Linked DNA regions of Homo sapiens: region 1 is linked to region 2. The links are contacts of gene promoters, found by promoter capture Hi-C in blood cells and fetal thymus (Javierre and others, 2016). All regions are on one chromosome and are shown on one strand. The core of a region is centred on a gene start or on the middle of the fragment in contact, and the rest is flanking DNA. Distances in the headings are between cores, read along the strand shown. Region 1 overlaps LOC105373188 (a long non-coding RNA gene). Region 2 holds the start of DDX3X (DEAD-box helicase 3 X-linked).

Region 1 (4,643 bases), core at 1,176-3,675, 1.6 Mb after region 2:
TATGGAGGCTAGAAGGCTGAAATCAAGGTGTTAGCAAGGTTGGTTCTTTCTGAGGCTCTGAAAGGGAATCTATTCCATACCTCTCTTCTAGCTTCTGATGAGTGCTGGCAATCCTTGGCATTCCTTGGCTTGCAACTGCTTTGCTCCAACCTCTGCCTTCGTCATGACACAGCATTCTTCCTGTGCATCTCTATGTCTAAATTTCCCTCTTATGAGGACACCAGTCATTAGATTAAAGACCACTTTAATCCATTACAACCTCATCTTAATTTAATTATATCTACACAGATCCTATTTTCAAATAAGGTCACATTCACAAATACTGGGGGCTAGGACTTCAACATATCTTTTTGAGGGAACACAATTCAATTTACAAAGGCAATTAAGTGCTGCCACTGCCACTTGGCCTTTGTCGTCTCAAGAGTCTATCATTGTTATTACATTTAGGGATCCTAGTTTATGGTAGCAGTTCCCATGATAATTTCTGGTCTATAATGAATAGTCAGCACAAAGCTCATCAAGGATGCTGGAGCTCCCCTTACAGATTTATTTCTCATAGCCAGGGTAAAGGGTGTGTTCTGAGAGCCCTCTCAAGGTGAATGAGTAGGTCTTATATGATAAAGACACTCCAACATTCAAATGTTTCTAAGCCTTTAGATATCTTCCTCTACAGTATACCCCAAAAGTTCTGGCATATTTTGATTTCATTTATTGTAGGTCACTTTTGGGTCCATGTTTCAGCCAACCAACCAAGTAAACTGTCAAGCCCCTCAACCTGAAACACTGAATCTAGAATATTTGCTTAGTTGGCCCTGTTATGGACTGCATTGTTGCCTCCTCCCCAAAATGTGTATGTTGAAACCCTAACCCCCAATGTGACTATATTTGGAGATGGGGATAATTAAGTAAAATGAGGTCATAAGGGTGAGGCCTTAATTCCATAGGGCTGATGTCCTTATAAGAAAAGGAAGAGACATCAGCGCTGTCTCTCTCTCTCTCCACGTGAATGCCCAGAGGAAAGACCATGTGAAGGTACAGTAAGAAGGTAGCCATCTGCAAGCTGGAAAGTGCCCTCCACAGAAACTAAGCCTGTTGGCACCTTGATCTTGAACTTCAATCCTCCAAAATTGTAAGAAAATAATTTTTTTGTTATTTAAGCCACCCTGCCCATGGTATTTTGTTATGGCACGCCAAGCTGATGAATACAGGCCCATATCAACTAATTCTGCCCAATCCAACTTCATTTTCCTTTCACTTTGACTCCATATCTTTAAAATTGATTCCTATGCATATCCCCCAGGTTTCTGACTATATAAAGTGATAAAACTGTACAATGCTTTTGGTATGCATAGCAGCTCCTCATGGGTTACACTTTGTACTTTACCCCTCTGAGCCCGCTGGGACTTCAGGTAAGTTATAGGTTTAGAAGCAAAGAGAGGTGGTGGGGGTAGGTCTTAAAGAGGATCAGCAGTGCCTTACCAGTCAACTACCTCAGGAAAGGCAGGCAAAGGAGGGCCAATCTTCTCAAGACAGGAGTAGAAAGGCTGCTTCTACTGGCAAAAAAGGCTCAGCAGAACTCAGGGGTTAGAGTCCCCAGCTTTGTGAGAATCTGCCCATAGGATCCCATTCCAGCTTTATATTCATACAGAGGCTACAAGGCTGAGAAATCACTTTGCATCATTCAGCCACTGGCAGGGCGGAGACTCTGAATTTTGGTTTTCAGGGCCCTGTGGCTATGGAAGGAAGATAAGAATTTCTTTCAGGGCAAACAGAAGCTTTCAGTTTCTTTATGTGGACTTTGAGCTGATAATTCAAATTCCCGAGCCTATCCTTTCCCTACTTTCTCCCACGCAGTTAGGAGCAAACAGCCAACCTCATTGTACTCCTTGGTTTGACTAAAATGTGCTAAGGCATCAAATACATGGTCACCCAGAACCTTGTCTTCTGTAAGTGTTTGATTAGGAGTAACTGTAAGGGATAATTGGAAGGATGGCCGAGAAAGGAATGAGGCCAATAGACCCAAGTTCAGGCAAGCTGATTTATTGTCAGTCCTGCCAGGCCACCTCTTGACAAAAGCAGAGGAGGCAGCCCCACTTACAGGCTATAGCAAGGTTTTATAGGGTGTAGAACTGGGTCAAGGTGAAGGAAAAAGAAAAGAGACGGGGCGGGGGGGGGGTCCTTTGTGCCAGGTGTCTGACCACTTCCTGGAGATGTTTTTCTTGCCAGTTCTGTTGTGCAAGGTAGATGTCTTAACCACATCCTGGAGCAGCTGGCCTCTGGTCAAACAGTTACAGGAGGGTTTGGGGTAGGGTGTTTTGCTTTTGGCCTTTGGGGCTTAGATCTATGGGAGGGGGAAACAGTCCAGTTGGGTGGACCCTAACAGTAACCAGTGGGGATATTTTGTGTATCTCTATTGCCACATCATGCCATTGACTACCAGTGCCCTTCTTACTGCTAGAAGTAGACTCATTAGTGCTTTTAAATTTAATCATATTAGAGAAGACTCAAAACCAAGTCAGAGAATTCATACTTAAGATTCTATCCCCCTGGAACCACTCTTGGTATTAAAATCTGTATCAGTTAGCATTTAATCAGAGAAGCAAAAACTAGTATCTATCTAGATCTCTATATTTATATCAGATATTCTGCAGAGTGGCATTATTGACTTTTGGGCTGGATAATTCTTTGTTGGGGTGTGAGGGTGGGGGACAGTCCTGTGAATTGTGGGTTTATCTATGGCCTCTACTCACTATATGCCAGTAGCACAACTCTCTACCCTCCACCAAGTTGTAACAACCAAAAACGTATGCAGACACTGCCAAATGTTCCCTGAGGGTGAAAATTGCCTCCAGCTGAGAACTACTGGTATCTCTATATTATCTATATTTTTATTTATAGCTATATGTATCTCTTCCTCTATCTGAGAGAGAAATTGGTTATACGGAATTGGCCTTATGCAATTGTAGGAGCTGGCTAAGCAGTCTCTGTATGGCTGTTTTCTCACACATGATGCTGAGGCTTCAAGATCACAGGGATGGCAGTCAGAAAAGGAAAAACACAAGCAGGCTGGAACCAACAAGCTTAAGCTGGAACTCCGTGGAGAAGGACTAAAACCTGTGTTCATTCTTGTTGCCTCTAACCTTGGTAATGAGGGTATCCAGCAGAAGTGGGGCCCTTTGTCACAAAGTGAAACACACACCCCTGGTCTAGGAGTCTGAGAAGCTGAAAGAATATCAGCGGCAGGTAGAGCAGCCACAGAATCAGATGCTGCTTCACACCAGTAGGGTGAATCTACAGATCAGCAACAATATGTGTGAGCCACAAAATGGCCACTGCTTCTCTTTCAGCCTCTAAATGTCTCAAGAATCTTCCCTATGTCTTACCTCAACTCAAAACAAACAAGAGAAAAAATTCTGGGAAATGCAATTCAGCCTAGACAAGGTGACATATGAGAAAGCCATTACAAGATAGTTTGCTCAAAGTAGGATCCAAATTATGTCCATACTCAAATGAAAATATTATCCAAGCTGGGAGAATGTGTGGTTCCAAAGACTGACTACAAAATAAATTATGAGCTTAAATGGATTAAAATCATATTAAATATGTAGAAACTTCAAAACTCCACAAATCCAAAGTATGTCATGTACGGATAGAAATTTTTTCTTCACTGATGAGATAGAAAAAGAATTTGTCTGGCACAATGTATGACCCTTTGTCTATTCAAAAATGATCACAGCTAATGCAAAACATTTAACAGAAAGATAAATTTAATGTTAACAAGCACATTTGATAATTGTCCCAGGAAAGATTATAGGTAACTGGATGGAAGTATTTTTCAAGTAATCTAGGATAGTCAACATTTTAAATGCACCACAGAGACATTTATCTCAGCAATTCAGCAAAGCAGCATCAACTCTTGAGCCAGAATAAAAGCTTTCAGCTTCTCTTTTGAGAAGATTCTGAGCATTTACTTCATTTATAGTAAGGCTCTCTCAAATTTTTCTCTAAGATTTCCCAGAACCTTTCTGAGGCTTCATGCAATTTATATAAGTCACTTAACAAGCACTTGTTGAGCTGTTACCATGTGTCTGGCACTCTTCTAGGTGCTCTCTATAGACAAAGAATAAAATAGACAATCTATTCTCAAGAAACAAGCCTTCAGTGAATCAATAAACAAATATATATACACACATATAGTTGTGACAAGTGTTAGGAGGAAAAATATGACTGGGCAAAAGGATGGAGAGTTATACAGAGGAATGCTCATGCCTTTTTATATCAAGTATTCAGGTCTTTATACTTTATATCAAGTATTTACTTCAAGATACTTTATATCAAGTATTCAAAGTCCACTAAAGATTATCTGTAAGTAGAGATTTGAATCAAATGACGAAGTAAGTGAGTGAGGATTTCTAGAGGGGAAATCCTAGCATTCTAGGAGAGGGAATCATAAATGCAAAGGCCCAGAAGATGGGAGCTGTTAGCATGTTAGAGGTCCAGCAAGGAGTACCTGGAGTAGAAGGAGCCAGGGAAAGAGAGTTGGGAGGTGAAGTCAAGAGAGATCCAGGGGCCAGACTCAGAGACCATGGTTAAGATTTTCTTCTGAGAGACAAGAGAAGCCACTGGAGGATTTTGAGCAGAGT
Region 2 (5,125 bases), core at 2,514-5,013:
TAAAAAAAAAAAAAAAGATCTTAAACACTACCTCTCCTCCCCCCCACCCCCGCCTTCTTTTTGAGACGAGTTTCACTCTGTCGCCCAGGCTGGAGTGCAGTGGCGCAATCTCAGCTCACTGCAAACTCCACCTCCTGGACTCAAGCGATTCTCCCACCTCAGCCTCTGGAGTAGCTGGGATTACAGGCGCGCGCCACCAAGCCGTAACTCCTGGAATCAAGTGATCCCGCGTGCCTAGGCCTCCCAAAGTGCTGGGATTACAGGCATTATCCACCACGCCCTGCCTCGCAGAGCACTTTCAATTCATGCACAAGCCCTTGAATCCCAAACACTCTTGGAGGCAGAGACTACTTTTATTCCAACTTTATAGATAAGGAAGCCAGGGCACTGTCAAGGGAGTTGCCTGGTGCCTGTAAGCAGGGAGCTGAACTGGTAGTTAGAGGAATTGCAATTCCCAGGCTCTGGTTCACTGCGCTACCTCCAGGAATGGGGGTGGAAGTGGAGGGAGGGGGCGGTGTTGCAGGAAGTACATTTGCTTCAATATGAACAGTTAAAATGCCTGGAAACATTAAGAAAGGGAGCGTGCAAAAAAAAATTTCCCTGGTTTCAGCCATTTCTTTCTTTTTTTTTTTTGGGGGGGGGCGGAGTCTTGCTCTGTCGCCCAGGCTAATTTTTGTATTTTTTTTAGAGACGGGGTGTCACGGTGTTAGCCAGGATGGTCTCAGTCTCCTGACCTCGTGATCCGCCCGCCTCGGCCTCCCAAAGTGCTGGGATTGCAGGCGTGAGCCACCGCGGCCGGCCTGGTTTCAGCCATTTCTAACCCTTTTTTAGGTCACTTCAAATAAAATTTGCAAATAACTGCCATGTGGAGAAAATATGCAAATGTTGCTAAACGGAAAAGTCATTCGGAGTGCTGTGAAAGTTGGCTCATTTATTTAGCTGCCTCAAGTGTGCACATCATTCTTTTTCAAAGTGAATGTGTTTAAAGACAAAGCTTTGTATGTTTTCCCGCTTCCTCTCCAATTGGATATTCCAATTATAACGTATTGATTAACAAAATACCCTGGTGGTTTGAACCAAGTATGCCTATGAGCAGGGGTTAATTGAAAATAGGGAACTGCTGTATATTTCAATTCTTTTAGGTACTCCCATGGCGGTACCCTGTACTCGGCTCTACTCAAAAGTAAAACAAAGCCCAGAACCAGGGTAGTCAGTGCATCCCATTGTTGCTATATGCAGTTTGAAGAGCTGTCGGAACTCACAGTTTTCGAACCTGACTCATGTTTACCCTGGTTCATAGGAAAACGAAACTGAAACAAAACCGAGGTCCTTCACCAAAACTCCATGAGAATCCACGAATCTCAGGGCAGGAAGGGACCCTAATATCATTAAACCTAGTGGCTCTCCAAGGGGCATTGTAGAAATCTGTGTATTTCTGGTTGTCACAATGACTGGCGAGAGCTACTGGCATTTAGTGGGCAGGAGCCAGGCACGCTAGGATGTTCTATGATGCTGGTCAGTCCCACAGAGCGAATAATTGAATCACTGGACACATGTCGGTGAAAAACTAGTTCATTATCATCTAAGCCTAGAACTAACACTGTTTTACATATGAACACAAAGTATCTTTGCCCAGTTTCCATATATCCTGAATTTTCCACAAATGCAGGTACTGTTTCAATTGAAGGAAGATTGTACTGTTTTATTTAAAAATTATTAATAGTTCATCATTTTGGAAAATGAGGTTCCTAGTAGCAATGCTGCTCATGGAACTTGAGTTGTGAAATCAACACACCTTTCCAGTTTGCATTTGTGGCTCTACTGGGCAAGTGTCTTCCCACCAGTTAGTGTAGCTGTGCGGCGGCATTTACATATTATAATACATTGTTTTATTATAATCATTTTGCTTTCGTTTGTTGACAGATCATGTTTTTTGAAATTGTGTTTGTAGGTTTACATAAACAATTTAGGTTTTGTTATTTCAGTATAGGTAAAGGGGGCGTTAGAAAATACTCGTTATGAAAAGGAGTTGGGTCTTTCACAGGGTTATGGAATGTAGCAGACTCCTTTTATAGATGAGCAAATTGAGACCCAAAGCCGTTAAACAACTTGCCCCCGACAGTGTGATATTCTCTCCCTATCTCGTTCGAATTTCCGTCTCGATTTTAAAAATTGAGAAGGGAGAGAAGTTATGTGTATAGTAAATTATGTGATGAGCACGAACTATTTGAATTCTGGCAGCAGAAGACCTTTTGTGGGGGTGGTGGAAACCACTGCGTTTTATTTAATTTCGTAGGGCTGAGGGTCAGAAGAGAGGGGAAAGCGGTCATAAGAAACTACGGATGTGCGGGCGCCGGCTCAAAGCCGGGAATCCACTAGTAAACACCTTCTTCTATTTAAGGGCCTGCGGCACCGAAGCCGGGACTTGGGGTGGCCTGCCTAGGAGGGAACCACAGGAAGAGGTTCCACCGACGGTAGAAACCCGGTTCCTCCTGTTCCTCATCCACCGCAGCGGCCTGAGAGTCACCCCGAGCCCAGGCCGGTAACCCCGCTGCAGCCCCTCCGGCAGGCCCAGGTTGCACCGGCTACAAACATTCCCGACACCCTTGGGCCCTAGAAGAGCCGTTCGCCACCCGCGGGGTCCCCGCAACGCCGGTGGTCACCGGCCCTAAGCCGCTGGGCGCCCCGCGGGAGGAAACTAGGGGCAAATGTAGCCCGCATTCCTGCGGAGAGCCGGGGTCCCGGGAGGGCGCGCCAGCGGCGGTTCCGGATCAGCGCGTGTCTGTCTCATTGTTCCCTCACCGCGGGGGGCGGGGGCGGAGGCGCGCGCGCACACGTCGGGGGGTTGGCCAGGAGGGGCCATTGTGTGTTTCTAGGCGGCGCCCCCGCTGCCTAGGCAACCGCGCAGGAAGGTGTCCGGCCACCTGCGCGCGCCGCCGGCTCCCCTCCATTTCCCCCCGACTCCCGCCCCGGTCACCATCCTACCCTCCTCCCTCCTCCTTTCCCCTTACTCCGCTCCCCTCTTTTCCCTCCCTCTCCTCCCCTTCCCTCTGTTCTCTCCTCCTCTTCCCCTCCCCTCCCCCGTCCGGAGCACTCTATATTCAAGCCACCGTTTCCTGCTTCACAAAATGGCCACCGCACGCGACACCTACGGTCACGTGGCCTGCCGCCCTCTCAGTTTCGGGAATCTGCCTAGCTCCCACTAAGGGGAGGCTACCCGCGGAAGAGCGAGGGCAGATTAGACCGGAGAAATCCCACCACATCTCCAAGCCCGGGAACTGAGAGAGGAAGAAGAGTGAAGGCCAGTGTTAGGAAAAAAAAAACAAAAACAAAAAAAACGAAAAACGAAAGCTGAGTGCATAGAGTTGGAAAGGGGAGCGAATGCGTAAGGTTGGAAAGGGGGGCGAAGAGGCCTAGGTTAACATTTTCAGGCGTCTTAGCCGGTGGAAAGCGGGAGACGCAAGTTCTCGCGAGATCTCGAGAACTCCGAGGCTGAGACTAGGGTTTTAGCGGAGAGCACGGGAAGTGTAGCTCGAGAGAACTGGGACAGCATTTCGCACCCTAAGCTCCAAGGCAGGACTGCTAGGGGCGACAGGACTAAGTAGGAAATCCCTTGAGCTTAGACCTGAGGGAGCGCGCAGTAGCCGGGCAGAAGTCGCCGCGACAGGGAATTGCGGTGTGAGAGGGAGGGCACACGTTGTACGTGCTGACGTAGCCGGCTTTCCAGCGGGTATATTAGATCCGTGGCCGCGCGGTGCGCTCCAGAGCCGCAGTTCTCCCGTGAGAGGGCCTTCGCGGTGGAACAAACACTCGCTTAGCAGCGGAAGACTCCGAGTTCTCGGTACTCTTCAGGGATGAGTCATGTGGCAGTGGAAAATGCGCTCGGGCTGGACCAGCAGGTGAGCCGCAAGAACCCCACCGGGCTGGCTGCTGCGTGAATTCCTCCCCTGACCTAACCTGGCTAATGGCGCAGCGCTAACCGGCACCCTTACTTTTCATTTTCTGGGTGCCCCGGGCTGGCGGGTGTGAGTGCCCCGGGGCTATAGAGGGATAGGAATGTTGGTTGGGGCTGTCGCCCGGGCCCGGTCTCGGCCCGCTGTATTGTCCCCGGGACGAGCACAATGGCGGCTTTTGTGTGTGCGTGCGCAGGCGGGCGGAGGGGGAGGAAGTGCGCGCGCTCTCGCGGGGACGCGCATGCGCGAATCCCGACTGATTAGTGACCTGGGGGGGTTTGCGGGAGTGCGCAGCGCGGCGGGACGCGACTGGAGGCCCTTTTGGCTTGGAGGGCTTCGGCCTTCACGGCTGGCGCAGCCTGGATTCCCGTCCGGAGGACCTGGCGGCACCCGGTGTTTGCGTGCCTGCGAGCAAGGGGTAGAACGCGGCCCAGGAATGTGGGAGGGGGCGGCCTTCGCTCGGGGTAATGGCGGCGGCCTCTTTTGTGTGGTGCTGGGCGGCGCTGTGGCTCACCTCCGGGAGACGGCGGGTCTCGGGCGGGCGAAGGCCTGGAAAGGAGGATGGAATGGGTTTCTTGTTTTTTCCCGGGTTCCTTCCGCTGGCTTTTTCGCTTCAGCCCAGGTTCCGCAGGGTCCGGGGGCCCTGCGCCGCAGCCGGGGAGGCTGCGTTTCCGGAGTGGAAAGTTTTGTGACGCAGAAGATTGGGGAGGAGTGGGGGAGGGGTGGGGGCGGGGAGGGGAGGCAGGAATTGGCCGCTGCGCGCTGGGCCCTGGAGATAGAGGTTGGACGTGGCGGGGAGGTTAGGGAGCCAGCGAGGCCCTTTCTCCTCCTTGCTTGCCCCAGATTGTCCCTGTGTGGTATGTTAGCCGGGAGTCCCGCGTTGTTTTTCTGGGGTGGAGGGGTCATCGCGGGTTGTGGTAGTGTCTTCGTGTTAGTGACTGTGATCCAGGAATCCGCCATTGGAAAAACACCCGGCTTAGGGGGGAAGTAAACAGTTTTGTTGTTGACTTGTTGCTATCTGTGGAGTAGAATCTTGCAATGGGTCCCAGGCCCCCGGGTTTTTTCTCTTAGCCAGAATCCCCTCTTCTAAGGGTTTAGGGGCAGAGGAGAGAAAGATGTGTGATTTGAGAGGAGAAGGTTATGGACTTTGGTGGCAGGAAGTCTGCATCCCA

What was found. Contacts are between HindIII fragments. The CHiCAGO score rates a contact against its expected background, and 5 or more counts as called.
Region 1: a fragment that was not itself captured here is called in contact with the fragment with the promoter of DDX3X in region 2 in 1 of 17 cell types (fetal thymus); the score reaches 6.4 in fetal thymus.

The regions. Positions count from the first base shown.
Region 1 is chrX:42,941,574-42,946,216 of GRCh38, forward strand. LOC105373188 (a long non-coding RNA gene) reads left to right here. Exons shown (of 5, transcript XR_949037.3): 5 at 2,967-3,483. Among named protein-coding and RNA genes, the nearest start is that of PPP1R2C, 170 kb to the left of the region's middle. RefSeq lists a silencer at 2,935-2,994. The HindIII fragment of the contact is 1,305 bases long and covers 1,774-3,078 here.
Region 2 is chrX:41,330,399-41,335,523 of GRCh38, forward strand. DDX3X (DEAD-box helicase 3 X-linked) reads left to right here and starts at 3,764. Exons shown (of 17, transcript NM_001356.5): 1 at 3,764-3,899. The coding sequence starts at 3,855. RefSeq lists a silencer at 2,585-3,074 and an enhancer at 3,165-3,394. The HindIII fragment of the contact is 5,677 bases long and covers 993-5,125 here.